Linked DNA regions of Homo sapiens: region 1 is linked to region 2. The links are contacts of gene promoters, found by promoter capture Hi-C in blood cells and fetal thymus (Javierre and others, 2016). All regions are on one chromosome and are shown on one strand. Each heading gives the region's core, a stretch centred on a gene start or on the middle of the fragment in contact. The rest is flanking DNA. Distances are from core to core; before and after follow the strand shown.

Evidence for each region. Contacts are between HindIII fragments. The CHiCAGO score rates a contact against its expected background, and 5 or more counts as called.
Region 1: a contact is called between a fragment that was not itself captured here and the fragment with the promoter of FOXB2 in region 2, in 1 of 17 cell types (non-activated CD4 T cells). The highest score is 5.9, in non-activated CD4 T cells.

The regions. Positions count from the first base shown.
Region 1 is chr9:76,444,574-76,450,661 of GRCh38, forward strand. It overlaps a transcript of GCNT1 not described here. Among named protein-coding and RNA genes, the nearest start is that of GCNT1, 12 kb to the right of the region's middle. The HindIII fragment of the contact is 3,614 bases long and covers 1,557-5,170 here.
Region 2 is chr9:77,017,534-77,023,024 of GRCh38, forward strand. FOXB2 (forkhead box B2) reads left to right here and starts at 2,122. Exons shown (of 1, transcript NM_001013735.1): 1 at 2,122-3,420. The coding sequence starts at 2,122. The coding sequence ends at 3,420. The HindIII fragment of the contact is 5,221 bases long and covers 1-4,826 here.

The DNA of each region.
Region 1 (6,088 bases), core at 2,114-4,613, 570 kb before region 2:
TGGATTTAGAACCACAGAGCTGAAATGGACAGGGGCAGTTTCCCTAGAGGCACGGGACTAAGCACCTGATTAGAGAGGGTTTAATATAATTTGGAGACACCAGATACAGGCAATTCTTTTGACACAAAACAATCAGGTTCTTCCAGAAACTCCCTTTTCTGTTTTCACAAGGAGGCTGATGCCCTCTTGGGCCCTCTGTGTTGTTCTGGAGACCTCAGCTCTTAGCCTGCTGAAGGCAAGGAACAGGCGACAACCACAGCACCTTCTTCCCTGACCACAGCAAGGGGGAATGAAGGTCAGTTTTCTATGAAGCAGGAGTCAGTAAACTGCAGCAAACTATGATCACACCTGTTCATTTACGTGCTGTCTGTGGCTGCTGTCACACTAGAGGGACACAGGTAAGAGGTTGTGAGAGAATAAATAGCCCACCATACTTCAAATATTTACTATCTGGCCCTTTCCAGAAAAGGAAAGCTCTGCTATAAGTAGAGAATTAGGGCAGTAGCTAAGGAGGAAGGCGTTCAAGAAAGGGTTGTCAAAAGGAGAAATAACATTTTTGCATGCTGATAGGAACGATTCTGTGGAGAGAAAAAAAGTTGAAGTTGCAGAAGAAAGAATTGCTCGGATGATGTTCTCAAGTATAACATCAGAGGATGTTATACCTGGAATGAGGATCAGGTGCCCCAGTGGAAGGGTTGGCTTTACTAGGAATATAGACACATGTATCTCTCATTATCACTGTATGAAAAGATGTGGTACCTTACACATGAGAGCAATGTAAAGTTTAAACTCTTTGTTTCAGGTTTTCCTTTCCTTATTTATTTATTTATTTTTTTGACAGTCTCACTCTTTCACCCAGGCTGGAGTGCAGTGGCTCAGTCTCGGCTCACTGCAAACTCCACCTCTTGGGCTCAAGCGATTCTTGTCCCTCAGCCTCCCGAGTAGCTGGGATTACAGTCATGTACCACCAAGCCCAGCTAATTTTTGTATTTCTTTTTTGGTAGAGATGGGGTTTCAACATGTTGGCCAGGCTGGTCTCGAACTCCCGAGCTCAAGCGATCCTCCCGCCTTGGCCTCCCTCAGTTTTTACTTATTAGAATTGGCAAAGATAAAAACTGTGGCTAGGTGGGGTGGCTCACACCTGTAATCCCAGCAATCTGGGAGGCCAAGGTGGAAGGAATGCTTGAGGTCAGGAGTTCGGGACCAGCCTGGACAACATGGTGAGACTCCTGTCTCTATAAAAAATAGAAAATACGAAAATTAGCCAGACATGGTGGTGTGTGCCTGTTCCAGCTACTCAAGAGGCTGAGGAGGGAGGATCTCTTAAGCCCAGAAGTTTGAAGCTGCAGTGAGCTGTGGTCAATTACACCACTGGACTCCAGCCTGGGCAACAGAGCAAGACCCCATTTCCTAAATAAATCAATAAATATTATTTTTAAAACCTGTGATAATTTGCTCTGTTGGTGAGTGTGTGGGGGAAACAGGAAGTCACACATTGCTGGTGAGAATGTAAATTGGAACAATTTCTCTGTGGAAGACATGAAGAGTCATCAGGAAGCTTAAGGCCTGGGAGTTCCTAGGGGATCATCTATCTAGAAAATTTACCCTGGGAAACTGACCTTCAAGTCTCCCTTGCAGAGATTATGCAGGAATGCACTGGAGTGACTCCAGTGCCCTTCTCTGGTCAGGAACATAGCCAGGGTCTCCAGAACATATAGAGGGTGTAAGACAAGGAGAGTTTTTGCAGAAGCTGATGGGAGCCAGCACACAGCACCCAGGGAAGTTTGCCCTTGTGGAAAAGACGGCTGCCAAAACTCCCGCTCCATGCAATCTTCTTAGAGTTTAAATTCTCCTATCCTTTATCAAGGTCTAAGGAACTTGTTTCTTTTGCCTGTGTCTGATGGTATCTATTGCCAATCATCTTCCCCCACACAGAGGGTGAGACCTATCAACTTTTTAAATGCACATACATTTTGACCAAGCAATACCACTTACGGCAATTAATACTACACATATGTTTTATATATGTGTGAAGACATTCACTGTAGCATTGTTTATAATAGCAAAAAACTGGAAACAACTGGAATGGCCATTAGGGAACTATTTGAATATCATGGCATAGCCCCGTACTGGATAGACACTGAAAAGAACAAAGAGGCTTTATATAAACTAATATGGAATGATTTTCCAAACGTGTTAAGTGAGAAGAAGCAAAGTAAAGAACATATATGGGCCAAGCATAGTGGCTTGGTGTTTACATACATTAGATGTTAGAGGTACATACTAAAGAGGCAGTTTAGGCTGGGCACAGTGGCTCATGCCTGTAATCCCAGCACTTTGGGAGGCTGAGACGGGCAGATCACTCGAGTCCAGGAGTTTGAGGCCAACGTGGCCAACATGGTGATACCTCATCTCTACAAAAAATACAAAAATTAACTGGGCATGGTAGCGTCCACCTGTAATCCCAGCTACTTGGGAGGCTGAGGTAGGAGGATTGTCTGAGCCCAGGAGATTGAGGCTGCAGTGAGCTGGGAGCGTGCCACTGCACTACATCCTGGGCAGAGTGAAACCCTGTGTCAAAAAAAAAAAAAAAAAAAAAAAAAAAAAGAACAGATATGGATGGTATGTGGATATTGCTGAATTGCTTCTTCCTTTTCTTTTTTTCTTTTTCTTCTTTTTCTTTTTTGGAGACAGATCTCACTCTCACCCAGGCTGGAGTGCAGTGGCTTGATCACCACTCACTGCAGCCTCAACCTCCCGGGCTCAGGCAATCCTTCCACTTTAGCCTCCTTAATAGCTGGGACCATAGGTGTGCACCACCACGCCCCAGCTAATTTTTATTTTTATTTTTTTGTAGAGAGAGGTTTCACCATGTTGCCCAGGCTGGTCTTAAACTCCTGGGCTTAAGCGATCGGGCTGCCTCAGCCTCCCAAAGTGCTGGGATTACAGGCATGAGCCACTGTGCCCAGCCTAAACTGCCTCTTTAGTATATACCTCTAACATCTAATGTATGTAAACACTAGGACTGATTTTCACCCTATTTCTTAACTTTTTTATAGTTATACATGTGATTTTGCACACTACCACCAGAGGGGGCCTCTGCCACACTTCACGCAATATTTACAAGTCAGTATGGAGGATGTTTATTAAATAATTTTTATATCTAGAACATTCTTGTTCATTTAGCATAGGCATTTTGGTGCTCAGCTTTAAAAAAACTCTGTGAGCCCCCTGGCTCATCCGTCTTCTTTAGCATGTCAGTCCACAATCCCTGTGTCCAGTACGCCCTGACCCTGTCATCTTCCTTTGCTGTGCTGGATTCCTGAAACTGAAAATGCCTCACAACTTCTATGCACTCTTACCCTCAAAAGAGTGCATTTAGTGGCATGGCTGTGCCAGCCGTCTTTGTCCAGATGGCTTCCAGATAGGAATCACTGAGTCCAGGAATACTTTGAGAAGCCTGGAGAGCCTCTACTCTGAAAGTTTATCATCACTGCAAACTCAGCGAGTCCAGATTTTGCTCAACACATGCTGTCTGCTTTCTGTTTACCCCTCTAGTCTTTACTAACAGACACTTTATATATATATATACACACAGCCAGGCGCGGTGGCTCGCGCCTGTAATCCAAGCACTCTGGGAGCCCGAGGCAGGCGGATTACTTAAGCCCAGGAGTTTGAGACCAGCCTGGGCAACATGGTGAAACCCTATCTCTACAAAAAATACAAAAATTAGCCAGGTGTGGTGGCACGTACCTGTAGTCCCAGGTACTTGGGAGGCTGAGGTGGGAGGATGGCTTGAGCCCAGAAGACTGAGGCTACAGTGAGCTGTGATCATGCCACTGCACTCCAGCCTGGGTTGCAGAGTACGACCCCACCTCAAAACAACAACAGCAGCAAAAAAATCTTATTGAGGCATGGTTTAATAAAATATAGCTGTTTAGGTGTATAGTTCCATGACTTCTGACCAACCTACTAACCCAGGCAATTATTACCACAATCAAGATAAAGAACATTTCTATCACCCCAAAAAGCAAATGCCCTCCTCTCCCCACACTCAGCCCCAGCAACAACTGCTCTCCTTTCTGTCACTATAGATTAGATTTGCCTCTTCCAGAATTTCAGATACATAAACATGAATCAAACGGTCTGTACTCTTTCGTGTTTGGCATCTTTATCTCCACATAAGGTCTGGAGATTCATCCATGTTGAAGTGTGAATCAATTTTGCTTTCTTAAATGTCATTCCATTATTTTAATATGATATGCTGCAATTTGTTGATCCATTCAGACAGGTACTTCTTTTAACTTGTTTTTGCTGGTAAACACCCTGATGGGCATCTGCTCACTGTACATGTCATTTTCTTTTGGACAGAAATGCTAAATTTACTATTATTTGTTCATTTATTTTATGTTTTTCCAAAATGGAAACATCTTTCTGAAACAATGGGAAAGGGATCAGAATATGCCACCCCAGGCTGGGCATGGTGGCAGGGCCTATAATCCCAGCATTTTGGGAGGCTGAAGTGAGAAGATCCCTTGAGGCCAGGAGTTTGAGACCAGCCTGGGCAATAAAGCAAGACCCTGTCTCTACCAAAAACAAAATAAAATAAATTAGCGGGGCGGGGTAGTGTGTACCTGTAGTCCTAGCTACTTGGTTCAAGATGACAGTGAGGTATGATCACACTACCACACTCCAGCCTGGGCAACAACAAACAAGACCCTGTCTCTATAAAAAACAACAAAAAAAAAAACAAGCAAATAAAATGATAATAGTAAAAGTAAAAAAGAATGTGCCACCTCAAAACATGCCATATTGGCATAAGGATTATTTTGAGCTAAAGGCAACTGAGAAACAGCAGACACAAGCAAAACTCTTTGCCCTCTCTCTTTCTACCTACAAACGTTTGCCTAATTTCCCTTTGCAAAGGTGATGCCCTCTCCCATACCAGAATAAGGTGAACAATTCATCTGCATAACACACCTCACTAAACAAGCCTTAATTACCATGCCTTTCCCAGTTACCTTCCCACAATTTACCCACACCAGAGAAGCGCAGCCTCTCCCCATTTCCCTTGTCTAGTAGCTTCCCACACTTTATCATCCTCTGTTAAAATGCTGTATAAGCTCCTGGGTCTAAGCACCTCTTTGGGATTTTCACTTTTTTTCTGTGAAGCTTACATATGCAAACAAAATAAACCTTTTCGTTTTTGTTTGTTTTGTTTTGTTTTTGAGACAGAGTCTCACCCTGTCACCCAGGCTGGAGTGCAATGGTGTGATCTCGGCTCACTGCAACCTCTGCCTCCTGGGCTCAAGTGATTCTCATGCCTCAGCCTCCCAAGTAGCTAGAATTACAGACGCCCAGCTAATTTTTTGTATTTTTTGTAGAGACAGGTTTTCGCCGTTTTGGCCAGGCTGGTCTCAAACTCCTGACCTCAAGTGATCCACCAGCCTCAGCCTCCCAAAGTGCTGGGATTACAGGTGTGAGCCACTGCGCCCGGCCCTATTCGCCTCTTTTTATAAATTATATGTAACTGATGGTGTGTAAATTCTGTCCTGTCTGGCAATAATTTAATTGGTTCCCGCCATCCCCACCCTATGAAAATACCAGTTTTGTTTCCATTTGCAATTCATCTTAACATTCCTTTACTCCAGATAAATCTGTGCTTTTTGACTTTTCCTTTGAAATGTTTATAACGTACATCTGATTCCCTTATAGCATATGCGTAAATTCCTTAACAGATGTGCACTTTTATATTTGTATGAGTCATGATTTTATCTTTCTCTGAAAATTATTTTTTAACAACCCTTACATTGTTTACAGTGTTTCGATTCTGAAATCTTTGTGTATTTGTAAAATTTCCTACATAGGATAAATTCCTAGATGAATAGTTGTCCATAAGTATCCATGTTGTCCAAATGCCTTCTAGAAAGTTTGTAGAAATCTCTACAACAGAGAGCAGCACAGGAGTCTGTATTCCTACACCTTCATCTATATTATGTTTATCAATCTTTTTCAACTTTGCCAATCTGATAGGTAAAAAGTGATTTGTAGTTTTAATTTGCTTTTCTTCAATTCCTATTGAAATTGA
Region 2 (5,491 bases), core at 872-3,371:
GAAACAGTCCCAGAGACGGAGAGTATACTTGTTTCTAAACTCTGCTTTTCCTCCCAGCTGAAGGGCAAAGGTAGCCAAAACGAGTATACAACTTCAGGTTCTCCCTGCAGTAAACTGGGGTTTCCTGCTGGGTGTTTGGATGAGTGCAGAGCAGGAACCTCCAAGCAGAAGGACCTCACTCCTGGGTTCATCCACCTCTCCCTCGCAGATCACACCAGGATCCTGTGGACTGATAATTTTTGCTTCCTATTTAATTATTTCCATTCCACCTCCTGCCTCGCCCTGGCCCCACACCACCGTGCTAAGAATAGCAAAGATTTCCTTCCAGCACACACAGGTGATGGGACCCCTGAATCCCCAACTCTTACTTCTGGCCCCAGCTCAGACATCGCCATCCCAGAGAAACCTCATCTTGTCCAACTCACTCGCTCCAGGAAAGTGTGGTGGAGCCTCCATTCGCCAAGCCCTTTAGTGCCTATTCTATTAATTTCTTGGTTACTGTTCGTCTCACCCTCTATACCGCGATGGTGGAGCTCGGATACTGTCTCCTGTCTCCCTGCACCTGGTGCCTCACATGCAGTTGGCGCGCAATAAAACTGAGATGAATTTGGCATTTGGTGAAAACACCCCATGCTTTCTTCCCCATGAGTTTTTCCCTCCAGCCCTCTAATCATCGGGGTTTCTTGCAGAGAAGAGGCCTTGAGGACACGATACTCTGAACTTGACCCAGAGTGTCTAGCCCAGGAAAAAGGGTTTGTAAGGAGAGAGAAGCTCACAGCGAGTAGATGAAAACAGGGAAGGGTAAAAGGAAGGGGGCGGAAGAGGGAGATGCCAGAGAGAAGAGAAGCAAGAAGGCAGTGTCCTGTTCCCCCTCCACCGTGCTTGGTGGCCCGGGTGGGGCGCAGCTGCGGGAAATGCACCCGGAGCTGTGCCCCCTCCCGGCGAACAGCCTGCGCCACCCGCCGCACCGGGAGGTGGCTGGGGGCTGCCGAGCGAGTGGTGAACGCGATGGGTGGAGAGCGCCCGAAACGAGGTGGAAAAGGGGGCGGGGGCGAGGCACGGCGCCTTCTTGCCCCTTCTTCAGCTACAGACGCGGCGGCGGCGGCTGAGTCCCTCAGCCTCGGTCATGTGATAGTCTCGAAGCGCTAGCTGCGGGGGTCTCGGCGTCTCGGGGACCATTACAAAACGCAGCCAGGAGAGCGCGTCGCTGCCACTGCCGTCGCCTCTCCTCCTCAAGACAAGCCCGGGAGAAAGGCGGCAGCTGCGGCGCGGACGGCTGAGCCTCCCCGGCCAGCACTCACCCAGCATTCGCAGACGCCCTCTCCAGCCCGCCGCTCGCTCCCAGAGTCCTGCGCCCCACACTCCTCAGCAGAACCTGCGGGCGCTGCCGCTTCAGAAACCACCAAAGTTTTTTCTCCTCAGCGACAGCCTAGGGCTGCGCGTCTCTTCTAACCCCGGCGACGCTGCGAGCCTCGGAGAAAAGAGAGGCGCCCTAGAAGCCAATCTTCTCTCTCCTTACCCTGATTTTTCACTCCAGGAAAAGGAGAACTCCAGCGCGGTCTGGCTAAGTGCCTGGCCAGGGGCCTGCGTCCAGGGCACTGGAAGTCCTGCTGTCACTGGCCTCCAGGACAGCAGGCGCAAACTCAGATTTAAAGGGCCAGAGTCTCTACTGCCCAGACCTTCCTCCCAGCCATCTTGGTCTGGGTTTCCCTCGGACCTAGAAAAAGCAAAGAGGCCGGGAGGAAACACGGCCCCTTGCCACTCTCCTCTGCAGCCAGCTCCAGCACTCAGTCTTTGGCCACCCGGGGGAAGACGCAGAGAAGGCGGCGGTAAACCTGGTGCACTCCGCCCGCGACTGTGCGCGCCAGTCGGCAACCGTCGGGGCCAGAAGTTGCCAGCTTCCGAGAGCTGAGTAGGCCCGAAAGGCCAAGGTCGGAGACACCAGGCAATTCGGAGAAGGCAGGAGAGAGAAGCAGAGAGGGCCTGGAGGGCGAGAGGGCAAAGTGGCGGGACTGGAGGGGCCGAGTGGGAATTAGTGGGGGCAGCCAGGCCCCAGGAACGGAGTGCGGAGAGATTCTGTGGTCCAGTGCGGGCCGGAGGGCGGTGGAGGAGCCGGGGGCGATGCCGCGGCCGGGGAAGAGCTCGTACAGCGACCAAAAACCGCCCTACTCTTACATCTCGCTGACCGCCATGGCAATCCAGCACTCGGCCGAGAAGATGCTGCCGCTGAGCGACATCTACAAGTTCATCATGGAGCGCTTCCCCTACTACCGCGAGCACACACAGCGCTGGCAGAACAGCCTGCGCCACAACCTCTCCTTCAACGACTGCTTCATCAAGATTCCGCGGAGGCCCGACCAGCCTGGCAAGGGTAGCTTCTGGGCGCTGCACCCCGACTGCGGGGACATGTTCGAGAACGGCAGCTTCCTGCGGCGTCGCAAGCGCTTCAAGGTGCTGCGCGCCGACCATACTCACTTGCACGCGGGAAGCACCAAGAGCGCGCCGGGCGCCGGTCCGGGAGGGCACCTTCACCCCCATCACCACCACCACCCCCACCACCACCATCATCACCACGCTGCCGCACACCACCACCATCACCACCACCCACCCCAGCCGCCGCCGCCGCCGCCCCCGCCGCCGCCGCACATGGTACACTATTTCCATCAGCAACCGCCTACTGCTCCGCAGCCGCCTCCGCACCTCCCGTCACAGCCCCCGCAGCAACCGCCCCAGCAGTCGCAGCCTCAGCAGCCGTCTCACCCCGGCAAGATGCAGGAGGCGGCGGCCGTGGCGGCGGCGGCGGCGGCGGCCGCGGCAGCCGCGGTGGGCAGCGTGGGACGCCTGTCTCAGTTCCCACCCTACGGGCTGGGCTCGGCCGCCGCCGCTGCCGCCGCGGCCGCGGCGTCCACGTCAGGCTTCAAGCACCCCTTTGCCATTGAGAACATTATTGGCCGGGACTACAAGGGCGTGCTGCAGGCTGGAGGGCTGCCCTTGGCGTCCGTCATGCACCACCTGGGCTACCCCGTGCCCGGCCAGCTTGGCAACGTCGTCAGCTCCGTGTGGCCGCACGTTGGCGTCATGGATTCGGTGGCCGCCGCCGCGGCCGCCGCAGCCGCAGCCGGAGTCCCTGTAGGCCCGGAGTATGGGGCCTTCGGGGTCCCGGTCAAGTCCCTGTGCCACTCGGCAAGCCAGAGCCTGCCTGCCATGCCGGTGCCCATCAAGCCCACGCCTGCGCTGCCGCCCGTGTCCGCGCTGCAGCCGGGGCTCACTGTCCCCGCGGCTTCGCAGCAGCCTCCGGCGCCATCCACCGTGTGCTCCGCGGCCGCGGCCTCGCCCGTTGCCTCTCTGCTGGAGCCCACAGCCCCTACCTCGGCCGAAAGCAAGGGCGGCTCCTTGCACTCGGTGCTAGTGCACTCCTAGGGGACCCGGCGGGCGTGGGGAGACCAGCGGGGTGAGAGACGCCGGGCCCGGAACCGCCCAAACCACCCGACGGGGAGAGGGCGCCCTGGTCAGGCCGGGCAGAGCTGGCGAGTCTCAGCCTTTGCTGGAACGGAAGGTATTTAAATAGACGAACAACCCCGAAAAGTGGATTCTCCAGTGGTCTGAATAAATATAACCTTCCTGGTGTCTGTGTTTATACTATGTTGTACAATCAGATTAATGAAAGCCAATTTTCAGGTAAGAGTTTCTATTGTAATTAATATAAATCCATAAGTTATGGGGGGAGGGAACGAAGGAGGTTAGGAAAGCCTCATTCGCTGGTAAATTGGAAGTCGATTCTGACCCTTATTCCTGGGAGCAGAAGCTGGCAGAGCTAAACCTCCCGCGAAGAATCCAACAGAGAGTGACGCTGAAACGGATCTCAGCCACCACGTTTCTCTCTGCTGGTCGCATCCTCGGCGGTCGCCTCTCGTGAACATTCAAGACAAAACTGCCGTCCACTAAGGAAATTTCGTTTTATTTAAGAAGGAAAAGAGGAAGCGTTTGATACCGTTATTTTCCTAGTCAGCTAAATGGGCAAGGAAACGGTGTCATGAATAAAGTCGCTTTGGAGGGGGAAGGGGAGGAGAGGAGGCAGCGGGAACCCCACGAAATATCTTTGGGAAACAGCTAAGGTTCTTGGCTCTGACCTGGGGGTCAAGAAGGATAGGAGGAACCTCTAGAGCAATTAGTTTGTACAAAAGAGAATGGCAGCAGCTTAAAGGGTAAAGCCCCAAATTCCAAAAGTTGGGAAACACAACCAAAGGGAGACAATACAGGCGACTTTCCACCTGCAACTTGTTTGGGTATCAGTCGGATGAGAGCCCAAGAATAATGTGAATTCCCACGATCCTTTCTATTTGGAATTTTAAGGAAACAAATCACTTGTATAGCGGGATTTTGTTTCCCTAACTTACGAATGCAGGAAAAACTCGGCACATCACTCGACAATATTGCTCTTAACGCTTGCAGAAACGTTCCATGGCTGTTCCCTTCCAGTCTCCTCGGACGGAAGCAAGGGGACCACCCAGTCACCTTTGCACGCTGCGGCTGTTTTTGTATTCCGTGTGCTGTTTGAGCGCTTATGTCTTTCAGGCGAATTAATTCTTCAGTTTCAATTCGTGAATGGGAAAGAAACTTGCCTTGTCGCTCTTGCCCTTCCCCCCTCTTGAGCCCCAGGGAATAGCACTTTACTCGCGACACAATTTTGGGAATGGAGGGGGGCAGAGTGGGGAGAAATCCGCTTTGCCCTTTGGCTCTAAGTCACCTCCGCCTCTTGTCCGCGCCGCGTTCGGGTTGTGACTTTGTTTATGTCTGCTGGTGTTGTACGCGGTGTTCTCTATTAAAGCTTCTCTCTGGATATCTATGCTAGCCCCGTGTGAAGGTGTTTCAGTTCTCCAAGGATGAGGCCGTGGTTTGAGTGCCCACAGTTAGGTTAGGGTACTTTGCAAATCCTTCCCCTCCCTCTTATTTCTTAACTTCAGAACTTCAAAGGGGTGAGTACACGGGCGAGCCACCAGTAAGCACCGATTTCCTTCATTGCTCCTTTCAGCCTTTGGCACAATCATCTCTTTTACTATCTATTATTATTAGTAGTAGTATTTTAGAGACAAGATCCCACTATGTTTACCAGGCTGGTCTCGAACTTCCGATCTCAAACAATCGTCCCATCTGGGCCTCCCAAAGTGCTAGGATTACAGGCGTGAGCCATCACGCCCGGCCACCACCTATTTTTAATATGTCCGTTTCCTAATTGAACTTAAGTCCACCACCATGGTAGAGACTGAATTAGCAAAAACCCGCAACAGTGCGTTTTTCCTGTCACCACTATCCGTCACCTCTCTCCCATTTTGAGGTCCTCGACTACCATCTAAGGCCAGGAACTCGGTGTCAGCGGGGTGGGTGCCCGACGGCGCCCCCTTAAGTCTGCGGTCCTGGACGGAGGCAGCCGGGTTGGCGCCGGGACACTGCCGCTGCCGCATCAACTAGGCAAGCGCGCCCAGCCACCGCC